3 separate regions of the Homo sapiens genome follow, and regions 2 and 3 are each linked to region 1. Evidence: promoter capture Hi-C in human tissues and cell types (Jung and others, 2019). All regions are on one chromosome and are shown on one strand. Each heading gives the region's core, a stretch centred on a gene start or on the middle of the fragment in contact. The rest is flanking DNA. Distances are from core to core; before and after follow the strand shown.

Evidence for each region. Contacts are between HindIII fragments. The study calls those that stand out against the background at their distance.
Region 2: the fragment with the promoter of SNAPC4 here is called in contact with the fragment with the promoter of LCNL1 in region 1 in 2 of the 25 tissues and cell types used here (dorsolateral prefrontal cortex and spleen).
Region 3: a fragment that was not itself captured here is called in contact with the fragment with the promoter of LCNL1 in region 1 in 2 of the 25 tissues and cell types used here (dorsolateral prefrontal cortex and spleen).

Annotation. Positions count from the first base shown.
Region 1 is chr9:136,981,041-136,985,032 of GRCh38, reverse strand. LCNL1 (lipocalin like 1) reads right to left here and starts at 2,040. Exons shown (of 3, transcript NM_207510.4): 1 at 1,325-2,040; 2 at 470-543; 3 at 1-320. The coding sequence starts at 1,446. The coding sequence ends at 22. It overlaps PTGDS (prostaglandin D2 synthase), which reads right to left. Exons shown (of 7, transcript NM_000954.6): 7 at 3,291-3,454. RefSeq lists enhancers at 1-144, 145-702. The HindIII fragment of the contact is 9,863 bases long and covers 1-3,992 here.
Region 2 is chr9:136,397,974-136,401,965 of GRCh38, reverse strand. It overlaps SNAPC4 (small nuclear RNA activating complex polypeptide 4), which reads left to right and starts at 1,796. Exons shown (of 24, transcript NM_003086.4): 1 at 1,796-1,832; 2 at 3,529-3,667. The coding sequence starts at 3,538. It overlaps ENTR1 (endosome associated trafficking regulator 1), which reads left to right. Exons shown (of 10, transcript NM_001039707.2): 10 at 1-44. RefSeq lists silencers at 1,349-1,398, 1,549-1,758, 1,829-1,958, 2,029-2,138 and enhancers at 647-1,583, 3,313-3,992. The HindIII fragment of the contact is 18,374 bases long and covers 1-3,992 here.
Region 3 is chr9:136,442,053-136,446,044 of GRCh38, reverse strand. SEC16A (SEC16 homolog A, endoplasmic reticulum export factor) reads left to right here. Exons shown (of 32, transcript NM_014866.2): 29 at 326-400; 30 at 934-993; 31 at 2,145-2,222. Among named protein-coding and RNA genes, the nearest start is that of INPP5E, 4.2 kb to the right of the region's middle. The HindIII fragment of the contact is 6,254 bases long and covers 1-3,992 here.

The DNA.
Region 1 (3,992 bases), core at 791-3,290:
AAGGTGGGGAGGGCGGGTAAGCTAAAGGGAAGGGGCTGGAGGGGCGAAGAGAGGGAGAGAGGGGCAGGGAGGGGCCGGGACCCGCGGCCACAGACACCAGGAGCCAGCGGTTCCACCTTCCGCGTGCAGAAAGGGCTGGTGCAGGCACAGGGGTGACATCCCAGACCCGAAGCGGGGGTGTCTGGGTCTCCGCCCCGCAGCCCGCCCACCGTAGAGCTGCAGCCACTGGTTCCGCAGGCCCCCTTTCCGCATCTCCAAGTACAGCAAGGCAAAGTGCTGGTAGTCGGAGAAGGCCACTCGGATGTCACTCAGGGCCATGGCTGGAGGAGCGAGAGCCGCTGACCCCAGGCCCAGGGCACCTCCCCCCCGAGCGTGGCACCCCTCACGCCCCGGCCCCAGGTGCCAATCCAGCAGTCCATGCAGCCTCCAGGGCCCCCACGCCACAGCCCTGCCTGCTGCCCCACCTCACCTGGGTTGCTGAACTGCCCCGGTACAGCACCCTCGGTGAAGGTCGTGTCCATTTTCTGGCACCCGCCATGGGGCCTGGGGAGAAAGAGCCCCAATCCCCTGAGTGGCCACCCCTGCCCAGCGCCCAGGCCTAGAGCCTACCTTGCTGTCTCTGAGCCCAGGGTCCCCTGTTCACCCTCACAATCCTTAGAGGACATGGGACTTTAGGATGACCTTAGAGGTGGGGACACTCCTGCTGGGGGTGGGGTGGGTATTAAGTACCTGTTCACAGGCACACAGCCTAGAATGCAGGGCCTCCAGGTCCCCCTTCCAGACACAGACACACAGAAGACACACACATACACACATGCACACACACGGAGATAGACACAGACACAGACACACTGACAGACACACACATAGACACGCACACAAGACACACACAGAGATAGACACACACAGCCAGACACAGATACACAGACACACAGACACACAGACGCATACAGTGATACACACATACACACTCAGAGGTACACATCTACAAAGACACACATGCATACACACGCACACACAGACACACACACATGCAGAAATAGACACACATACACAGAGACACAGCCACATACAGTGATACACACACAGACACAGACATGCAGACACTTTTCTCAACACCAGGCCTCAGGCAGTGCTTCCTCCAGGGCCTGGGTCCCTCTGGACTCCGTGTGGCTGCCATCTGGGGCTCTGCCGCACAGAGCCGTCGAGGACCCGTGGTCTGACCTCAATGTGCTGGGGACACCATGGTCCCTCTGGACCTTCATGTGGCCTCATGCTGGCCATCCTCTGAGGCTGAGTCTGATGGGCTCGTGTGGTCACTTACGTGGGGTATCCAAACTTGAGGGCCAGGTCACCATTCCCCAAGGGGGTCACTAAGACCACAGCCATCTTCATGGTGTCCTTGGAGTCCAGGAAGTCCTGGTCATCTGACACCACCCCGACCATGTACCAGGTGCCCTGGAACTGCAGGGCAAGTGCAGGGAAGGCTGGGAGGCCGCCCCTGTGCCCTGGGCCTGAGCCCACCACATTCTGCCCCGACACAGCTGCTTCCTGGCCACGGCAGGGGCTGCTGTACACATCTCGACCCCGATGCAGAACTGAGGGAGGGGGGCCTCAGTACATGAGCAACTGGCCCCCACCAGCCCAGCACCGGCCTGTCTGCAGCTGGCACCCAGGGGGTACGGCTGGATGGGTGGGGCTGTGGCAAGGTCACAGGTCTTTGTGGGGTGGGTGGGGGACAGTGAGGCACAGGCAACCAACTTGTCCCTATTTTGGGCCCTGGGGATTGTTGGGGGATGCAACTGAAAAGGTAGGATGGAGGCTGCAGTCTTCCCCAGCCAACCCCTACTCCAGTCAGACGGAGCGGGTGAGGTGGGGGTTTCCCCTGCCCCTAGCCCTGCTGAGCCTGGATCAAAGAGGGTGTGGACAGGGACCCGGGGTGCAGCACCAAAGCCGGGAGGACTCATTGGAGATGAGGAGGAAACAGGGCTGGGCACACCTGGCTGGCATCAAAGTTGGCCTGGATGGGGACCTGGGCCTGGCCTGGGGATGCCCAGAGCAGGGCAAGGAGGGAACTGATCAGCAGAGCCCGAAGCATCATGCAGCAAGATGGCATCTCCTCCGGACACGGGAGCAGGGCAGAGCTGAGGTGGCTCCTCTGTAGGCTTTACGCCCCTGAGGTGCCCTGGGGCGGCTGGCCTGGGACTGCACCCACTGTGACAGGCTTCTGATCAAGTTGCACCCTGCAGCGCTCTGGCCTGGCTCCCTCCACCCAACCCCAGCCATCCGTTGCCTTTCCTCCGGGGTGGGGCCGGATGCCTGGCAGCTGAGGGTAGTTCTGACGGGCCTCTGGGCTAGGGGGCCTGCAGCTCACCCATCCTGCCTCTTCGGCCTTCTGCAGCCCCTCTGGGATGTTGGAATCCCCCCTACCTTGAGCTCAGGCACAGCCCTAAGCCCCCTTCTCCGGGAAGGCCACCCAGAAGCTCACCCTCACCTCCGAGCCTCAAAATGCTTGGTGCCTCTGCAGGGTCTGCCTCGGGGGGGCCTGGTGGGCAGGTCACAGTGAGTCCTGCACATTGTGTACCTGAGAATGGCTGCCTGGGTGGGAATCTGGAAGGGAGCAGGGTTGGGCAGGGCACTGGCCGGGCATGGTGTGGCCGTGGTGCCAGGGCTCTGGTGAGTGGACAAGGCTGTGATCTGGAGGCCCAGGTCAGAGGGCAGGGGGCGCACAGGGAGCCAGAAGGGATATGGGGTAGCCTGTCCCCAGCCCACTCTGTCAGTCTGTCCTGATGCGGGGTGGAGACACTCTGGCATGTTTCAAACAAATGTTTCTTTTTGTCCCCTGAAACCCTTATCTCTGCCCAATCTCAGTGCGTTAATCCCACACCTCAAGATACCCAACAGGTCCAAAGCTCCTCTGGGGCCTCGAGCCTCAGGCCTTTACTGCTGAGGGGGTGACAGGGTGGCGTTGGGGGTGCAGGGCACCTGCCTAAGGGATTAGCTGAGTCACTGACCCCCAGCTCAGCACCGGCCTGGTGGCAGTGGCAGCTGAGGGGGTATGGCTCGACGTGTGGGGCTGTGGGGCAGGGGCACACGACTGTGTGGGGTGGGTGGGAGACAGTGAGGGACACCCCCTCCTAGCTGTCCTGACTCAAGACCCCACTGGGAGCAAACACTAGAGGGCCTGTTCCTTTGTTGACGTCAGGCTGAGATTTTAGAGGGGGAGGTCCGGGTGGCCAGGGCCAGGCCCAGGACGGGTGATGACAGCGCAGACAGCCAGGAGCCAGCTCTACTGACTTGCTTCCGGAGTTTATTGTGCAGGATGAAGCCTGAGTGGGCAGGGTTGCTTTGGCGGGGAGCCGGGGCAGGGGCTCGGGGAAGGAACAGAGCAGAGACATCCAGAGCGTGGGGGTCACCTGGCTGGCCGGGATCCCAGCTTCAGCCCTGGGGAGTCCTGAGGGGTGTGACCGAAAGGCTAGGATGGAGGACTGCAGTCTACCCCAGCCCACCTCCACTCCAGTCGATGGAGCAGGTGCGGGCTACGGGGACTTTTCTCTGCCCCCAGCCCCACTGAGCCCCGCTGAGAGAGCAAGATCCATCCCTGGGGCTTGGATCCCCGCTGCCCCAGGGTCTACAGACTCCACCCTTCCCAGCCCCAGGGTCCACAGACTCCAGCTCCAGCCTAGGCCTCCCTCCTGGGGGTGGTGGGTGAATCCGCCCTGAGCCTGCTCTCCGAGCTGTCCCACGGCATCCATGTAGCGTCCTTGGCCCTCCCCTTCCATCCCCTGTTCCCTCCCATCCTGTCTCCCCCACCCTGGTTTCCTCCTAGCCCAGGAGCCAGACACCCTTGCTGCCAGGTGGTCCCTGTGGTATAGCCCCTTGGCCTTGTCTGCCTGGGGCCTCGCACCTGCACCCCCCAACCATGAGCCTTCAGGAGTCAGCCCTGTTCCAGCCACTGGGACAGGTTTTCCTTCTGAGCCTCACACCTGTGC
Region 2 (3,992 bases), core at 547-3,046, 580 kb after region 1:
CAATTGATAGCTTTCTTATTTAATAAATTCTGTAGTTCACCGCACTGTCTCTTCTCTGCTGACTTAGCCAGTCCTTGGAGAACGCCGTGGGCTTCCACACCTCACTTGCTCTTGCCCTAACTGGTGCCTTGTGCTGGCAGATTCTCTCCAGGTCCTCAGCCCTTGGGGTTAGGGGCAGACTCAGACCACTGCTGCCTGGGCCTGACCACTGGGACCCACACGTGATGGACGTGTGAGTCACGCAGCTGCACGTTTCAGAGCTGGACAGACTGGATTCTAGCATTGGATCATCTTTTCGGATCATGTGGTTGAATTTTTCAAACAAGGCGTCTGAATTGCTAGACCCCTAGCCTTAGCTACAGGTGAAGGCCAGAGCTTTCCAGCAGTCACTGTGGAGCGGTCCTGCTGCGTAGCCCTATGCGCCTCCTGCTCCTGCTGGTTGGTGAAAGCAGGCTCTGGATTCTGTTGGCAGAGCTGACTTGAGACAGGGTGCTGTGGTTGGGAAGTGCCGGAATGAGGTTCTGAGTGTATAGGCAGCTCTGGGAGCCCTGTAGCAGCAGGATGGGGGCATCTGGGGAGGATGCCTCAGGCCACAGGCCTTCCCTGAGGCCCTTTGGGAGAGACAGCATTTGATGGGGTGGGGGTCACAAAGGCCAGATCGCCAGGCGGGTCCCATCCACCAGATGCGTGTGAAGTGGGGTGGTCCCCTGGCCCTCATGCCAGCAGCTCATGGAGCAGGTGGGGCCCAGGGAAGCGCGGTGGGGATGGGCATGTGGGTTTTGCGCACCCCTCTCTTTTGATGTCTGTGTTTGAAGCGTTTGATAGTAAGAAGTTTAAAAATACAATTTGTGGCGCGGTATTTAGTGCCTGCCTTCTGCCTCCAGATTTCAAGCCCGATGCAGGGACTGAAACGAGGCGCTCGAGGAGCCCCCAGCCGCCTGGTTCCATCCCCTCCATCTGTTTCTTGCCAATCCCTAGCTCCCAGTTTGGCCTCACCTGGGCCTAGCCCTTTGCCACCAAAAGCCCACCTCCTAGGTAGGCAGGGCAAACCCTCTTTATAGTTCTCCAGCTGATGCCCCTAGCTCACCCCAGGCTGGAGTGGAGGCCCCCTCAACTGGCTGGGCCCAGGATGTCTTTGCAGCACCGATACTTAGAAGCTCTCAGGAGCCAGGAACTGTAGGCCCCTGCCCAGCTCCCGGCCGAGTTAGCCCTGGCACGTTCCTGAAGGAATGAATGCCCACTTAGGGGAGGGCCCCGGGGCAGCTCTCCAGGCCAGGAGACCCCAGAGGGTGTGCACAGGTGACCAGGGAAGCGAGTTTGTGTGGTGCGGGCCCCCACCCTCTGGCCTCAGTCTCCTGCACGTGCCTGGAGATCGGCCTGGCCTCGGCGATCCTGAGCATGCAGGGCAGGCTGGGGAAAAAGCCTTTCACGTAGACTTTCTCATCCGTTGCTTAACCAAACCCCAACATGTCCGTTAACAGAGGATGAAACAAGCACAGAGAGGTCCAGCGATGGCCGAAGGTCACAGCCAGTAAGGGCCGGTCTTCCGGATCGTGACCAGGTGGCCGGGTGCCTGTCCCTGTCTGTCCCCTGCCTTGAGGTCCCGCGTCCACCCGCGCCCCTCCAGAGCGCGCGGAGGCGGCCCCCAGGGCGGCCGCGCGAGGGCAGCATCGAGCCGTTCGCCTCTCTAGTCCCGGCAGGCCGCAGCGGCCGTCCCGGCGTGCCCCGCGCCTCAGGAGGCGGGACTTCCGGCGCGCGGCGCTCTTGTTCTGCAGCCGCCGGAAGCGTCGAGTCTGCAGTCGCCCGGGCGACGGCGGGGTCCGCGCGGCCAGGTAAGGTGTGCGCCCAGCAGGTGAGGCGCGGGTGGCGTCGGCAGCTTCAGGGCTCTCCCCGTGGAGGGGGCGCTGTCCCGAGGAGCGGATAGCCGAGGCCCGGGACGGGGGCGGGGCAGCGCCCAAAGTCGGGGAAACTGAGGCCCGGCGTGGCCCCCGTCCGGCCGAGCCTGGGCGCGCGGGGATTCTGGCCCTGGGAGCCCCTCGGCTGGGAGCGGGCTGCGGGCTCCGAGGAGGCTCCGGCGGGGCGGCCCCGGCTGCAGGGCGCCCGCGTGCGTCTCGGGGACTGCGCCGGCGATTCCGCGGTGGCCGAGCCTCGGAGGGGGTTTCCCCAGTTCACGCAGCGAGCAGGAGGCGGAACTGGGCCTGGGCCGGGTCTGTCTCCCAAGCCAGTGCCTAAACGCCCATCGTCCTGGCGCATCCTGGGGTTCCCTGGGCCCAGCCGAGTCTGGGTGGCGTCCCCGCAGCTGGGGCTGGAGGGACCGCCTGCTGCGCTCCGTCTTGGTGGGCAGCCCTCATGACCAGCCCTTGGGAGAGGGGTGCGGGGAGAGGGACAGCCCCTGATGTCAGTGGCTCAGCACGTGTGACTTTGACCTCCTTCCTGCTGATCATTGCTCACCTGAGCGACACGGGGAGGGGGAGGCAGCAGCCTCGTGTGAGGCTTCCAGAGGAAAGCGTCTCCGCCGGCCCGGAGGCGCTGAACCAGCCTGCGGTCGCTGCCAGCTCTGCCTCTGGCCGGCTGTTAACTGAGTTTACAGGTTCACAAGCATTTCGGGCATAAACAAGGGGCTTTGTGAAGGAGTGAGGGGACCTGGGCTGCTGATGCGGCTAACGGTGCTCGCGGGTGGATGCTTTGGTTTTGTTCCAGTTGGGCAGGGCCCCAGTCAGCCTCCAGCAGGGAGAGCCACGCCAAGGACGGGGGAGGGCGTTTCTCTTTGTTGTTGGGTGTTTTGGGCTCCCGGGTCTGTGCTAGTGATTCCTTTAGATTTTCTCTGCTAATGTTTCATTCTCCCACTCTCTCTCTAGCGTCCTTCTCCCTTCAGACTTCCTGGACCACAGTTCCTAAGAAAAAAGCTTGACAAACATTTGTTAGTGTCAGGCACTGCCACGTTCCAGGCGTTGTTCTGGATGTACAGAGAACAGCCAGCCTTCCCTTTGGGAGCTTCCTTCCCAACCATGCTGTTAGTGCCTGCCACCTGGGCAGTCTCAGTGTGTGTCTCTGTGAACGTTTCTCAAATGCCCTCTGTGGTCCGGCTCTGTGTCATGGGAGAGCAGGATGGCCAAAGTGGGTCACGGGCTGTGTCCTTGCCCTGTAGTGACTTTGCCACTGCACCCCACACCTTCTACGCTGGGTGGCCAGTTTCCATGTGGCTTGGTGTGGGAGCAGAGACGGGACAGTGGGGCCTGTCCTTGTTCATCCACTCCCTGCCTGTGCTGGTTGCAGCCTCAGAGCAGGCGGGAGATGTTCTTGGGGCTTAGGCTCCTGGCAGAGCACATAGCAGGAGTTTGTGGGGTCTGAGGTTCCTGTCCCAGGGTTCCCCGATTCTGTGCCTGGCCTATTAATCTTTCTCTGGGGAGCCCAGTGCCCACTGCCGAGCAGGCTCCTGCCATCCCCCATGGGCGGGTGTGTCTGAAGGAGAATGGGATCCCGGCACGGTCTTGGTTTCTAACATCTCGGGGTGTGTTTTGGAGGCAGGCGGGAGTCATGGATGTAGATGCTGAAAGAGAGAAGATAACACAGGAGATCAAGGAGCTGGAAAGGATTTTGGATCCCGGCTCCTCGGGCTCCCACGTGGAGATCTCAGAATCAAGTCTCGAGTCAGATTCTGAAGCAGGTAAGCCCCTTGTACCTAGCCTCCTGGGGTCCTGGTAAGAACAGCTGGTCTGCCTCCTGGGTTCCTCTCAGGCACATTAGGGAGTGATGGTAGCCGGGTGTGGTTTCTCAGGCCTGTAAACCCAGGGACTCCTGAGGCTGAGGTGAGAGCATTGTTTGATCCCAGGAGTTCATGTCCAGCCTGGACAACGCAGCAAGACCCTGTCTCTAAAAATAATAATAATAATAATAAACGATGGCTGGTGCTGCTTGGACCAGACCCAATTTTTTGCCAACACTGGTGTCTTTCTGTACTCCAGCCAGAGAGCTTCTGACAATTCCTCCTT
Region 3 (3,992 bases), core at 1,266-3,765, 540 kb after region 1:
ATCAGCTGTGTAAAGCATGGGGCAGTCACTCACCTGTCTAAGCCTCAGTTTTCCCCTCTGTAAAATGGGAATAACAGTAGCCCCAGATTGCAAGCCTGTCATGGGCACACACAGGCACCTGGTAGAGAGCTGCAGGGGTCTAGAGTCAACAGGGTTGTGCGGCTGGACCCACGTGTGAGGCACTTTTCACTTCTCTCTGAGGAGCACTTTACGTGGAAGAGGGCGTTTGTAACCCAGGCCAGAACAGTTTCATATTTTTTGGCCTGGTGTGAGAGACTTAAATTCCCTGGGATTTGGTTGCTGCAATTCTTCTTTTCCTCGGCAGGTTTTAAGCTCTGCAGCGTCACTCCCTGGCTCTGAACTCCCCTCCTCCAGGCCTGAGGGTTCCCAGGGAGGAGAGGTAAGGAGTGCCGACGCCAGGGCCCCCCGCAGCCCAGGCCTCCCCAGCAGCTCACTGTCCAGGCGCCTCTTCCTTTATGGAGGGGCGGTACTGGGTAGGAAGAGGCAGTTTAGAAACAAGAGCACCTCGAAGGTGGTGTTCCTGGGGGAAAAAAAATTGCACTTGTTTTAACAAAACTGTTTGGGAGCTCCAGGAGGGGTGCAGGGGGTTTGAGTTGTCGCCTCAGTCCCGGTCCTCTCCCTTCAACAGCACGGGAATTGTCTTGAATTGTGAGGTGTCAGGAGGTGAAGCTGGCTTAGGCCGAGGCTGGACTTTTCCTCCCAGCCCTCCCCTAAGCTAATGGTTGTTTCGGGATAACAGCTTTACATTAAGACAGGAATCTTAAGCTAACACTGGCTTTTTTTTCCCTTTTGAGTTATGTTGATTCTAATGGCATCACAAAGCTTTTGAAATGGAACTGACAGCTTGGATTGGACAGTGACGTGCATGTTGACTTTCGTCCGTGTTTTATGTGTGTTCTTGCTGTTTTGTAGCTTTCGCGCTGTAGTTCAATGAGTTCATTATCACGTGAAGTGAGCCAGCATTTTAATCAGGTACCTGCGGCTGGTGGTCCTCACTAACATGAGAGCTGGCGTGTGCCGCCTGTGTTCCTGAGCACGCGGTGCCGGTTCGCCACGTGCGCTTTGCCACTAACCTCGCCCGTTGTCTCCCTCAGCGTCACGTGACCAAGGGTACAGGGTTCCTTTTTTTTTTTTTTTTTTTTTTGAGACGGAGTTTCGCTCTTGTTGCCCAGGCTGGAATGCAATGGTGTGATCTCAGCTCACCGCCACCTCCACCTCCTGGGTTCAAGCCATCCTCCTGTCTCGGCCTTCCTGAGTAGCTGGGATTACAGGCATGAGCCACCACGCCCAGCTAATTTTGTATTTTTAGTAGAGACGGGGTTTCTCCATGTTGGTCAGGCTGGTCCCAACCTCAGGTGATCCGCCCGCCTCAGCCTCCCAAAGTGCTGAGATTACAGCAGTGTTCCTTTAAATGGCCTTAAAGGGGGTTTTGCTGTTCAGTCTCCACATACATGGGGCAACTGGATCGACCCTGAGGTGTCCTAGTCAATGAGTGGGTTCTGTCATTTTGCTCTTTCCAAATTGGTTTTTCCAATGACGGGCCTGGGTCGTGGCCTCGCCGAGTGAGTGTTTCCCCGGTCAGGATGCTCTCCTTTGGAAGGAAGATTGCTCCTTTCTGATCAAGCATGAGAACGTTGGTTTGAGGCCGGGGCGGGTGCAGCAGTGACCTGCGGCCAATGTGGGAGGGAGGTGAACGAACGCTTCATCTTCTGCCTGTCCAGGCACCAGCTGCAGCCGTGGCTCAGCAGAAAGGCTTGCAGCGACCCTTCCGCCTGCAAATGAGAGCCCTGGGCCTCGTGTCATGGCTGGAGCCTTAGAGCTGCAGCCGTGGGCACCTCCTCACCACCTCGCACGCTCGGTGCCACCTCAGTGCTGTGTGCACCTTCCCATTGCATGTTCCGGTGCTTAAAACATTGGCTCTGCACGTTGCTTTGATTTTCACCATTTTTCTCTGAACCATTAAATAACTAAATCCAGTGTTGCAAGAAGTGTCTTGGATCTGCTTCTGTAGCTTATGTAAAAGTACTGTAAATCCCACCCAGAAGCGGTGTCTGTATCTGCACTTGAAGTGACAGCTGCTGTGCAGCGCAGCCCTGCTGAGGTGACTTCTCTGTGCTTCTCAGGCTCCTGGCGACCTCCCTGCTGCAGGGGGCCCTCCCAGCGGGGCCATGCCCTTCTACAACCCTGCTCAGCTGGCACAGGTGAGTGACTCCTACCTTTCCCTACGAGACCCTAACACGCCCACTGACGACCTGACCCTGCTGCTCAGTGATGGCAGCTTTCTGCCCTAGATCCTCTTTTTCTTTCTTTTTAAAAAATATATTTATTTATTTATTGAGACAGGGTCTTGCTCTGTTGCCCAGGCTGGAGTGCAGTGGTGCGATCTCTGATCTCAGCTCACTGCAGCCATAACTTCCTGGGCTGAAGCAATCCTCCTGCCTCAGCCTCCTGAGTAGCTGGGACTACAGGCATGGTCAGCACACCTGGCAAATTTTTTATGTTTTGTAGAGACGGTCTCACCTTGTTGCCTAGGCTGGTCTTGAACTACTAGGCTCAAGCGATCTTCCCACCTCGGCTTCCCAAGGCACTGGGATTACAGGCTTGAGCCACCGTGCCCAGCTTCTCTTTTCTGAATGAAAGTTGCACACCTACTGGGTGGCAGTCCACAGGGCACTGTGAGGAGCCAGGCTGGGCCCTCCCCGGCTGCCATTTCTCCCTTTGTGTGGACACCAGGCCCACCGTGCTCAGCTCTGCGTGGACACCAGGCCCGCCGTGCTCCCGTGTGGAGCTCTGTCGACACGAGGCCCTCCGTGCTCCTGTATTCGCTTTGCCTTTTCCTAGGTTGTAGTTTGTAAAATGTGCTTGGCTTTCTACTTGTGTATCCCTCATTCAGCCCCCAGCTCTGCCACGTCTGCTATTCTGTTCTCCTGGAGCCCGTGGTCTCTGAGCCGAGCGTGATCTCTCCTCCCTTGGCCCGGGCACCCGGGTCTCCCCGGAGTGGGTCCCCCAGCTTTGGAATCCTATGTTGCTGCCTTTCTTAGTTACTCTGTTTGTCTTGGTGACACACATCCTCTGGTAGCTCTTGCTTTTTTTGTATGTTTTTTATTTCTTTTTCCTAATAGCTTCTTGACAGAAAGGTCCCAGGGTGACTTGGGAGATGCCTTTCACGTCTGGAGCTGCCTTTCTCCTCCGGCCTATCTGGCTGGCTGGTAGAATTCTTGGGCCAAAGTCACTTTCTTCAGAACTGCAAGTGGCCTTAGGTTTCCTGCTGCCTGTGGTTGCTGAGACCCCAGGGCCGTTCTGCCTGCAGCCCCTTTCAGGGTCCGTTTCCCTGGGACCTGGAGGGCTTCACCCTCAGCCCCCTTGGGCCTGACTGCATGCCCTTCAGCTGGGGAGTGTTCTAGAATGTTTCCTGTGGTTTCCCTCCCTCAGCCTCGTCTCTCCTCCCCTCTCCCTTGCCTGTGGAGTATAGACTGGCTGCCAGTGTAGGGGAGCTGAGCGGGGTCCAAGGTCTGGGGCCTCTTGGGATTCAGCCCCATTGTCACCCCAGCCTGCCCTCACAGCCTCACACACTCTTGACTGCAGGCTTCCTGGGCTGGGGCCCAGCACTCCTGCCCTGGTCCTCTACAAACGAGGCCGAGGCTCCCAGGACCACTGCCCCCAAGCTGGCCCCTGGCTGTCACCTGCTTTTCAGCATCCAGACTAGTCGATTTTGGTATTGTCCTGCTCCCTTTACCATGTGGTTAGTGCCTTTACAAAAATTCCTTGGCTTTCCCCTCCATGAGGCTTTGCGAGGGAGCAAGAGTGGATGCCTGCATTGGCCAGCTGTCTGCAACTGAGGTCCCCGCGTCCCATGCAGTAGGCCAGGCCTGGCCACCACTTGTCCCTGGACTCTGGACAGCCAGGCTGGCTCTGCAGAGCAGCTCCAGGTCTCATGGCCCTGATGAAACCACGGCACCTCCTGGCCACCC